Linked DNA regions of Homo sapiens: region 2 is linked to region 1. The links are contacts of gene promoters, found by promoter capture Hi-C in blood cells and fetal thymus (Javierre and others, 2016). All regions are on one chromosome and are shown on one strand. The core of a region is centred on a gene start or on the middle of the fragment in contact, and the rest is flanking DNA. Distances in the headings are between cores, read along the strand shown.

Evidence for each region. The method cuts DNA at HindIII sites, captures the fragments that hold promoters and counts their contacts. A CHiCAGO score of 5 or more calls a contact.
Region 2: a fragment that was not itself captured here is called in contact with the fragment with the promoter of CCDC93 in region 1 in 2 of 17 cell types (naive CD8 T cells and naive B cells); the score reaches 6.7 in naive CD8 T cells.

What each region holds. Positions count from the first base shown.
Region 1 is chr2:118,011,977-118,016,240 of GRCh38, reverse strand. It overlaps CCDC93 (CCC complex scaffolding subunit CCDC93), which reads left to right and starts at 2,171. Exons shown (of 24, transcript NM_019044.5): 1 at 2,171-2,287. The coding sequence starts at 2,246. RefSeq lists silencers at 1,964-2,163, 2,634-2,683. The HindIII fragment of the contact is 9,438 bases long and covers 1-4,264 here.
Region 2 is chr2:117,792,861-117,796,787 of GRCh38, reverse strand. No RefSeq gene overlaps it. Among named protein-coding and RNA genes, the nearest start is that of DDX18, 20 kb to the left of the region's middle. The HindIII fragment of the contact is 7,003 bases long and covers 1-3,927 here.

The sequences.
Region 1 (4,264 bases), core at 922-3,421:
CACTCTTGTTGCCCAGGCTGGAGTGCAGTGGCACAATCTCAGCTCACCGCAACCTCCGCCTTCCCAGTTCAAGTGATTCTCCTGCCTCAGCCTACCAAGTAGCTGGGATTACAGGCATGCGCTGCCACGCCCGGCTAATTTTGTATTTTTAGTAGAGACGGCATTTCTCCATGTTGGTCAGGCTGGTCTCGAACTCCCAATCTCAGGTGATCCACCCGCCTCGGCCTCTCAAAGTGCTGGGATTACAGACATGAGCCACCGCGCTCGGGAAGGACAGTTTCTTACTGAGGAAGTTAGCTACTCATGCTTATTTAAAACATTGCAAAAGCATTATAACAGGGAACTCAGGGTGTGGCCTGAGTCCTGTTATTCTCCAGGCTGCTATTATATACAGCTGTTTAGGCTTGCCTGCTATGTGAGATCTTACTACCTGTTCCTAGGCATCAGTACCTGTCTGGTCACTCAACAGTGGCCACAAATTATTATCACTCTCCATTCCCCATCAACCTATACCATTTCAGTGAATGACAGTTTTAAAACTACAAAAACAACACATTTGGGAAGTTATGAGAGTAGAAATTGAAGTTTATTGGCTTCACAAAGGATAAGAGCAAGATATACCACACAGGAGGGTTCCCATCTCAATACCTTAACTTGCATATTCAGATTATTCAAATTATTGGGGACCAGGGTTTGGGGATCGTGCACAGCTTTGAGTAATATTTGCTAGTTATATTTAAGAACAAAATGGCATCCTTAGGGCAGTTCCAACTATTTGTGAGCTCTGGCTCCAGACAAACCTCTGTCTGTCAGGATGAACTCCAGGAGGAGTACAAAAGGTGCAAAAATAAAATAAAATAGAAAACATCATATATATATACACGTATATATATACACACATATATACACGTATATATATATACACACATATATATATATACACGTATATATATATAGTTTTTAGACAGGGTCTTGCTCTGTCACCCAAGCAGGAGTGCAGTGGTGTTATCATAGCTCACTGCAACCTCAACCTTCCTGGCTCAAGCAATTCTCCCACCTCAGCCTACCGGCTAGCTGGGACCACTGGCACCGGGCTAATTTTCTTATTTTTTGTAGAGATGGAGGTCTCACTATGTTGCCCAGGTTGGTCTCCAACTCCTAGGTTCAAGTGATACTCCCGCCTCGACCCCCAAAGTGCTGGGATTACAGGCATGTGCCACCGCGCCTGCCTACTCTTTTAAAGACGCTAGGGATGCAAAGAAGAGACGAAAGCAAACACGAAACCTTTTTGATCTCAAGGAACTAAAGGTCTGAGTCTGACACTTCCCATCCCACACACATATACAGAGGGAAGGATCTCTTCTCCAGCAAAAGTTTTCACGAAAGTCATCTCTTTCCTCATTGCTTAAAAGAAACAAAAAGCCAAGAAGCCGTTATGGAGCGGGTGTGGGGGCCTGTGACCTTTTGTCTAGTTGCCATCCTCCGGGACCAACAAGGGGTACATCAAATAAGGGACGCGGCGGCTCAAATGACATGAACATAGGAGTCCGCATTCTCTGAGATGTCATTCCTCCAGGAAGACCCAGGAACCGTGAATAGGGCGGGGTGGTGGGCAATATCTGAAGCGAGGTTTCCTGGGAACGCGATGCCACTGGCCAGGACGCTGGAGAGGGCAGCGGGCTTGAAGAATCCCTTCTCAAGGGGTCCGTTCCTGGGTCGTATATGGAGAAGTCTGTCCAAGCGTGTGTCTGTAAGGTCTAGAGCCGGGCGTGCATTCAGAATCCTCAAGCTCATCTGTACTTGGACTCTGACCCTGAAGCGAGGCGGTTTCCGAAGTCTGATTCACCGAGGGGACAGGACCTATTTGGGGCATCCGATGGCAGCGAGAAGAGAAGGGAGCCGAAATGCAAAATATTCTCAAGATGCAGGAGGAACCCCTCTCAAAGAGCGCCACGGAGAAAACTTCAGAGTACGGGCGCGATGATCCAGCACAACGCCAGGACCTGCAGCCCAGCCCACCTCTCCCCGGGCTGCTGTGGCGCAGGCGCAGTGGCGCCGCGCTCCGGCCCCAGCGCGCATGCTCTGCCCGGCTGCGGCGCTTCGGGCAGGCGGCGGCGGCGGCGGCGGCGGCGGCAGAGGGAGTTTCCGCTTTGTACTCCACCCCGGTAGCAGCTCCGCGGCAGGGACAGCTTCCTCCGGACGCTTGGCGGGCTTCGCTCTCGCCTTACGACAGCCCGGTCGGATCATGGGGTTGCCCAGGGGGCCGGAGGGCCAGGGTCTCCCGGAGGTAAGAACGCCTCCTCCTTCCCTGACACGTCGGGGTTCCTGAAGAGAGGGCCGAGCCGCGGGGCGGCGGGCTGAGCGGGCCCTGGGTGCGTTAGGGGCGCCCCGCCCCCTTCCTCAGGCGTATCCACCTCAGGGAAGCGCCGACCCTCTTCTTGGAGGCGGGGAGCAGGTACCCCTGCATGGGCAGGGGGCGGCGGGCGGGTGAGGACAAACTTAAGCCGCTCCCGGGTCTCTTGGGGCGCAGGTGGCCTTCCTAGCCCGACACCTGCTCTGACGCAGCCCCACGCGCCGCGGGGTCCTGGGCTCCCACCTTTCTCCCTGTCCGGGACGGGCTCCCCCACCCCGCGCCGCAGGGCTAGCCCCGAGGGCCGAGGCTGCTGGGCGCTGGAGTCACGAGACCGCTCTCCGAGGCGGTTCGGGCTCGGGTGGTGACCTTGGGACGTCTACCGCCACCCCGCAGAGTCCCGGCGGCCCGCCCCACCCGCCTTGCTGTCGGGAGGGAATGCCACCCTCCTTGCGTGGACCCGGGCCGGGGCGGCGGGAGGAAGTTTGGGAGACTTGCGCGCACCAGGGAGGTGTCCCGCTGGGTCAGCGCGCCGGGGCGTTCGGGGTGGGACGCACTCCAGGGGTGCTGTGTGGCGGGGGACCCGGCTCTGGGCGGAAAGGCTGCGGCTTCTCCAGAAGAGGGCGGGGTTCTTTTCCAAAGGTGTTTGTTAAGTACTCACTTAGTGCTAGGGAGGGGGTCATGAGTGGTTTGCGGATTTCCACGTTTGCTGGGAATACAGGGAAAGTGTATTCATTTTCTTTTGGCTGCAAATACCACTTAGCATCTCATAGGTAGTTTGCATCTGTCGTCCCTTTCAGTTGATTTTACTCAAAGGCTAGTCTAGTTTACTGGATTCTGGAGAGAAATGGAAGCCACGCCGCACCTCTGCCTTTTTCCTAAGGTTCTGGAGCAGGCATTGGGCAGGGTGACTGCTTGCTTGACGTGGTGAGTCGTCCCTTCACACTTACCTGCCAGTGACCAATGTTACTCCTCTGCATTCCTCCCAAATCCTCAGTTCTTTCATATCACAAGTATCCACTAATTGAGGGATCACTGTGTTCTGTGTCCAGAAGCTGGGAATATATATAGTCTGAAAGGACAGATTTGTTTGTCAGTGTGTGCTCCCCGAATGCAAGTCCATTTTGTTGTCTTAAGAAAACCTGACAAGCATAATGTTGTCAGAACCCCTGTATTAGGTAAAATCTTACATGCACGTTGCCTGGGATGGGACCCAGGATAGTGAACAATAGGATTTGTACTGTGACATTTGAAGTTTTCTTTTTTGCCACTTCTGTATTCTAGGCTCTCATCAAGTTTTTGCCTGGCCTTTTGCTGTAGACTTCTGTCTGGTCTCCCACGTTCTACTTTAAATCCGTCCAACCCAATATTCCACAGTACTATCAGTGGAGGTCTTTCTGGGGGGAAAATAAATAAATTAATTAATGAAGAGCAACCTGCTGCTGTATGTCCTTCGTTTAAACTTTCACTGACTGCTAAGAGGCCACACTCACCAGGTCAAGCAATAACTTATCATCATTTAGTTCAGAAGCTAGTAAATATAAATATGGATAGTCTGTGTTATTAGGATGTCACTAGACCAGTTAATTCATTAAATTCATTCTTTTTTTTTTTTTTGAGACAGAGTCTCACTCTGTCACCGAGGCTGGAGTGCAATGGCGTGAGCTCGGTTCATTGCAACCTCTGCCTCCCAGGTTCAAGCAATTCTTATGCCTCAGGCTTCCCAGTAGCTGGGATTGCAGATGTGAGCCACTGCCCTGCCCGAATTCATTCTTTTTAACCCTTTACAAAGATAGCTAGACTTGGCCTGCCTTCCAGCTTACAACAACTATAGTGGACGGAAATTGAAAGTTTATTGGGCTTTGTGTAAGAGCTCATTGTTGTTTGTCTTTGTCAGAAATTTAGCTTCAACAA
Region 2 (3,927 bases), core at 1,021-3,520, 220 kb after region 1:
GTGGCCTGTTCACTCTGATGGTCACTTCTTTTGCTGTGCAGAAGCTCTTTAGTTTAATTAGATCCCATTTGTCAATTTTGGCTTTTGTTGCCATTGCTTTTGGTGTTTTAGTTATGAAGTCCTTGCTCATGCCTATGTCCTGAATGGTATTGCCTAGGTTTTCTTCTAGGGCCTTTATGGTTTTAGGTCTTATGTTTAAGTCTTTAATCCATCTTGAATTAGTTTTTGTATAAGGTGTAAGGAAGGGATTCAGTTTCAGCTTTCTACACATGGCTAGCCAGTTTTCTGAGCACCATTTATTAAATAGGGAATCCTTTCCCCATTTCTTGTTTTTGTCAGGTTTGTCAAAGATCAGATGTTTGTAGATGAGTGGTGTTATTTCTGAGGCCACTGTTCTGTTCCATTGATCTACATATCTGTTTTGGTACCAGTGCCATGCTGTTTTGGATTTCTGTAGGCTGGTGGTATAGTTTGAAGTCAGATAGCGTGATACCTCCAGCTTTGTTCTTTTGGCTTAGGATTATCTTGGCAATGCGGGCTCTTTTTTGGTTCCATATGAATTTTAAAGCAGTTTTTTCCAGTTCTGCGAAGAAAGTCATTGGTAGCTTGTTGGGGATGGCATTGAATCTGTAAATTACCTTGGGCAGTATGGCCATTTTCACGATATTGATTCTTCCTAACCATGAGCATGGAATGTTCTTCCATTTGTTTGTATCCTCTTTTATTTCATTGAGCAGTGGTTTGTAGTTCTCCTTGAAGAGGTCCTTCACATCCAACAAGGGGCTCAATTCTAAGAAATTTCCATAGGTATTGGTGGCTCTTATTGAGATTCACCTGCATCTTCTAATTGACCCCCACGTCCCCACATTTGCATTCTCAATGTGTCTTCCTGTCATGTACATGCCTCATTGTCCCATGCTGTAGAGGTTACCTGTGAGTCTATAGCATCAATATTATCTACACATTTTGGGCCCTCTAACCCCTGTAGTGGTTCATCTCCCTCTAGGTTCCTTAGATAAGGCATTGAAATGGAGCAAATGGTACTAAAAAGTGTACATCATTAGTTATTTTCTATTTTTGTTGTCTTCTCAGCTCAACCTAATATTAAAAAGTATTATATTTAGTGCTTCATTCCCATAGGCTTGTTTTTTGCAAATAGCTGTCTGTGAATTCGTATGCATAAGACTTCCTAGAGTAAGGATAAAGGTGGAGGCAAAGGAAGGCCTAAACTATGCATGTGGTGGTATTAGCTGACAGCATGTCCAGGTAACTGGCCATTATTGATTCCCTTTATCTTGGGTTAAACTCACTCACATAGTCACTTACCTCTGTGACTATGAAAGAAGAATGCCTCTTTATTCTTTTTTCCCTTTTCATTTGGTTTGCCTTACACCTGTGTGAAAGGAATAATTATACCTGCAAGACCTGGAGCCAGGCTATAAAAACTTGGGACAAGTTACTTAAATTTTCGTGCTTCATTTTCTTATCTATAAAATGGGGATGATGTTAGTAACTACCTCATTGGATCACTGAGAAAGTGAAATGAGTCAATATGTGTCATGTGCTTAGAACAATCCTAGTATACAGAAAATAGCTCAATAAACATTGGCAGGTATCATTAAGGTGTTTCTCTGGTTTGCTGTTTTGTGTTTGTAAAGAAAGCCTTAAGCAGGCTGAAAGTAGCTGGAGAGCTCGTCAAAGATGTGCTTTGTGGGTTCTGGGCTCGTGGTGCCACAGGGAACATATCTTATTATATTTGTTTTGTTTTTCTAGCATGCAGTATGGTGGCTGACACATGGTTGAGATTCAATAGAAAATGAATGAATGAATGAAAATGCTCTCAGTCCTGCTTAGATTCTTGGCTATAGGCATGCCTCCTTTCATACAGACATGTGAGTCACACAGTACAGCTCAGAAACCTTGGCTTGAAATTCTCCAAGGGGCGGGAGAAGAATAGAGCCTTTTGGAAGCACAGACTTTAAGCCATAAAGTACCAAGGACCCATTTTAGTAGATCACTTCTGTACAGATTTCACCATTAAGAAAACTTCACAGACTCTTGCAGTTGAGAAGTGACTCCCATGTTTTTCTACTTGAAGTAACATTAGCACTACTGATTTTTCAAGGCTAGCAAGTAGGGTCAACTGAATAATGAGCAGATTAATCAAGACTTCAGATGCTGCCTCTAGCTCATAACTTATAGACTGACAGGTTCATAATCTTTAAAATCATAATTTTCCCTAGGGTAGAGGACTTTTCTATGATAAGCTGTTCTGTTTTTTTTTTTAATATGAAGGTTCTCAAAAAAAGGATTACAATCTCTTTTCCATCAACAATGTGCACCTCAATTATTTATACCTATTCAGCTACCAAAAAGAAATGTTTTAAGGAATCATGGTAAGGGATTCTCTCCCTTTCTCTCTCTCAAATACACACAGAACTATGGACTAAACCTGCAGACCTAGCTCACCCTTTTCAGTACCTAAAGTAACTTATGGCCAAGAAGTCACCTAGAAATATGTAGTTTGCCATTAAGTCATTATGGCTCTGGGTTTAAAATTTCTAGTCCACAGTCTGCTCCTAAACAAAAGTCTGAGAAAATACATCCATCATCGCTCAAGTTCTGTACAGTATGTGCAGTCTTGAGAATTTGGATTTTTGTGACTAGAACAATATATTAAATCATATAATTTGTTTTTGCTTGTTTATTTGTTTGTTTTTTTTAGGCAGAGTCTCGCTCTGTTGCCAGGCTAGAGTGCAATGGCATGATCTCGGCTCAGTGCAACCTCTGTCTCCCGGGTTCAAGTGATTCTCCTGCCTCAGCCTCCCAAGTAGCTGGGATTACAGGCACCTGCCACCACGCCTGGCTAACGTTTGTATTTTTAGTAGAGATGGGGTTTCACGATGTTGGCCAGGCTCATCTCAAACTCCTGACCTCAGGTGATGCACCCGCCTCTGCCTCCCAAAGTGCTGGGGTTACAGGCGTGAGCCACCACGCCCAGCAAATCATATACTTTTAACAGGGCTCAGAATTGAATAAATACGTGATTTAAAAGTTCACGTGGCTCATAGTGCTTGATTAGAGATCTCCTTAGAAATGTAAATATTAAAAAGTTATCAAGAGGTCAGGTTCAATGGCTCATGCCTGTAATCTCAGCGTTTTAGGAGGCCGAGGTAGGCAGATCTCTTGAGTCCAGAATTCGAGACAAGTCTGGGCAACATGGCAAATCCCTGTCTCTACCAAAAAAAAAAAAAAAAAAAAAAAAAAAAAATTAGCCTGGTGTTGTGGTGAGCGACTGTAATCTCAGCTACTTGGGAGGCTGAGGCGGGAGGATTGCTTGAGCCCAGGATGTTGAGGCTGCAATGAGCTATGATCACACACTGCACTCCAACCTGGGTGACAGAGTGAGACCCTATCTCAAAAACAAAAAAAAAGTTATCAAGATAATACTTGTAAAAATAAAAATAAAAAGTACTGTGACATTTACAAGGGAAAAAATAAATCTCTCACTCCAGTCTTCATCACAGTGGAAACTTGCTTTAACTTTCTGCTCTTTCTTTTAAATTCTAAGTAAATATCATATTTCTAAGTAGTTCATTTATTGCTGTATCTTAAATATCTAGATTTTTTTGACTTTATATAATTATAGGACACTTTTCGTCCCTTTAATAAGTCTTCATCTTAATCCTTCTTGATAGAGTTATGTTACTATTTTTAATTATTAATTATTCATGCCCTCTTCATTGTATCCACGCAAATATTATCCTTACAGAGACATGTAGATTTTTGTCTTTCTCAGACACATTAATTGTCTTGCTTTTCATTTAAATAACTTATTATCTGCCTATTTTTAATTTTATAAGGATGTCTGTATCCTACTTCTTCAATCTCGTCTGTTTGCTCTTGGACCTGTTACCTAATGCCAAC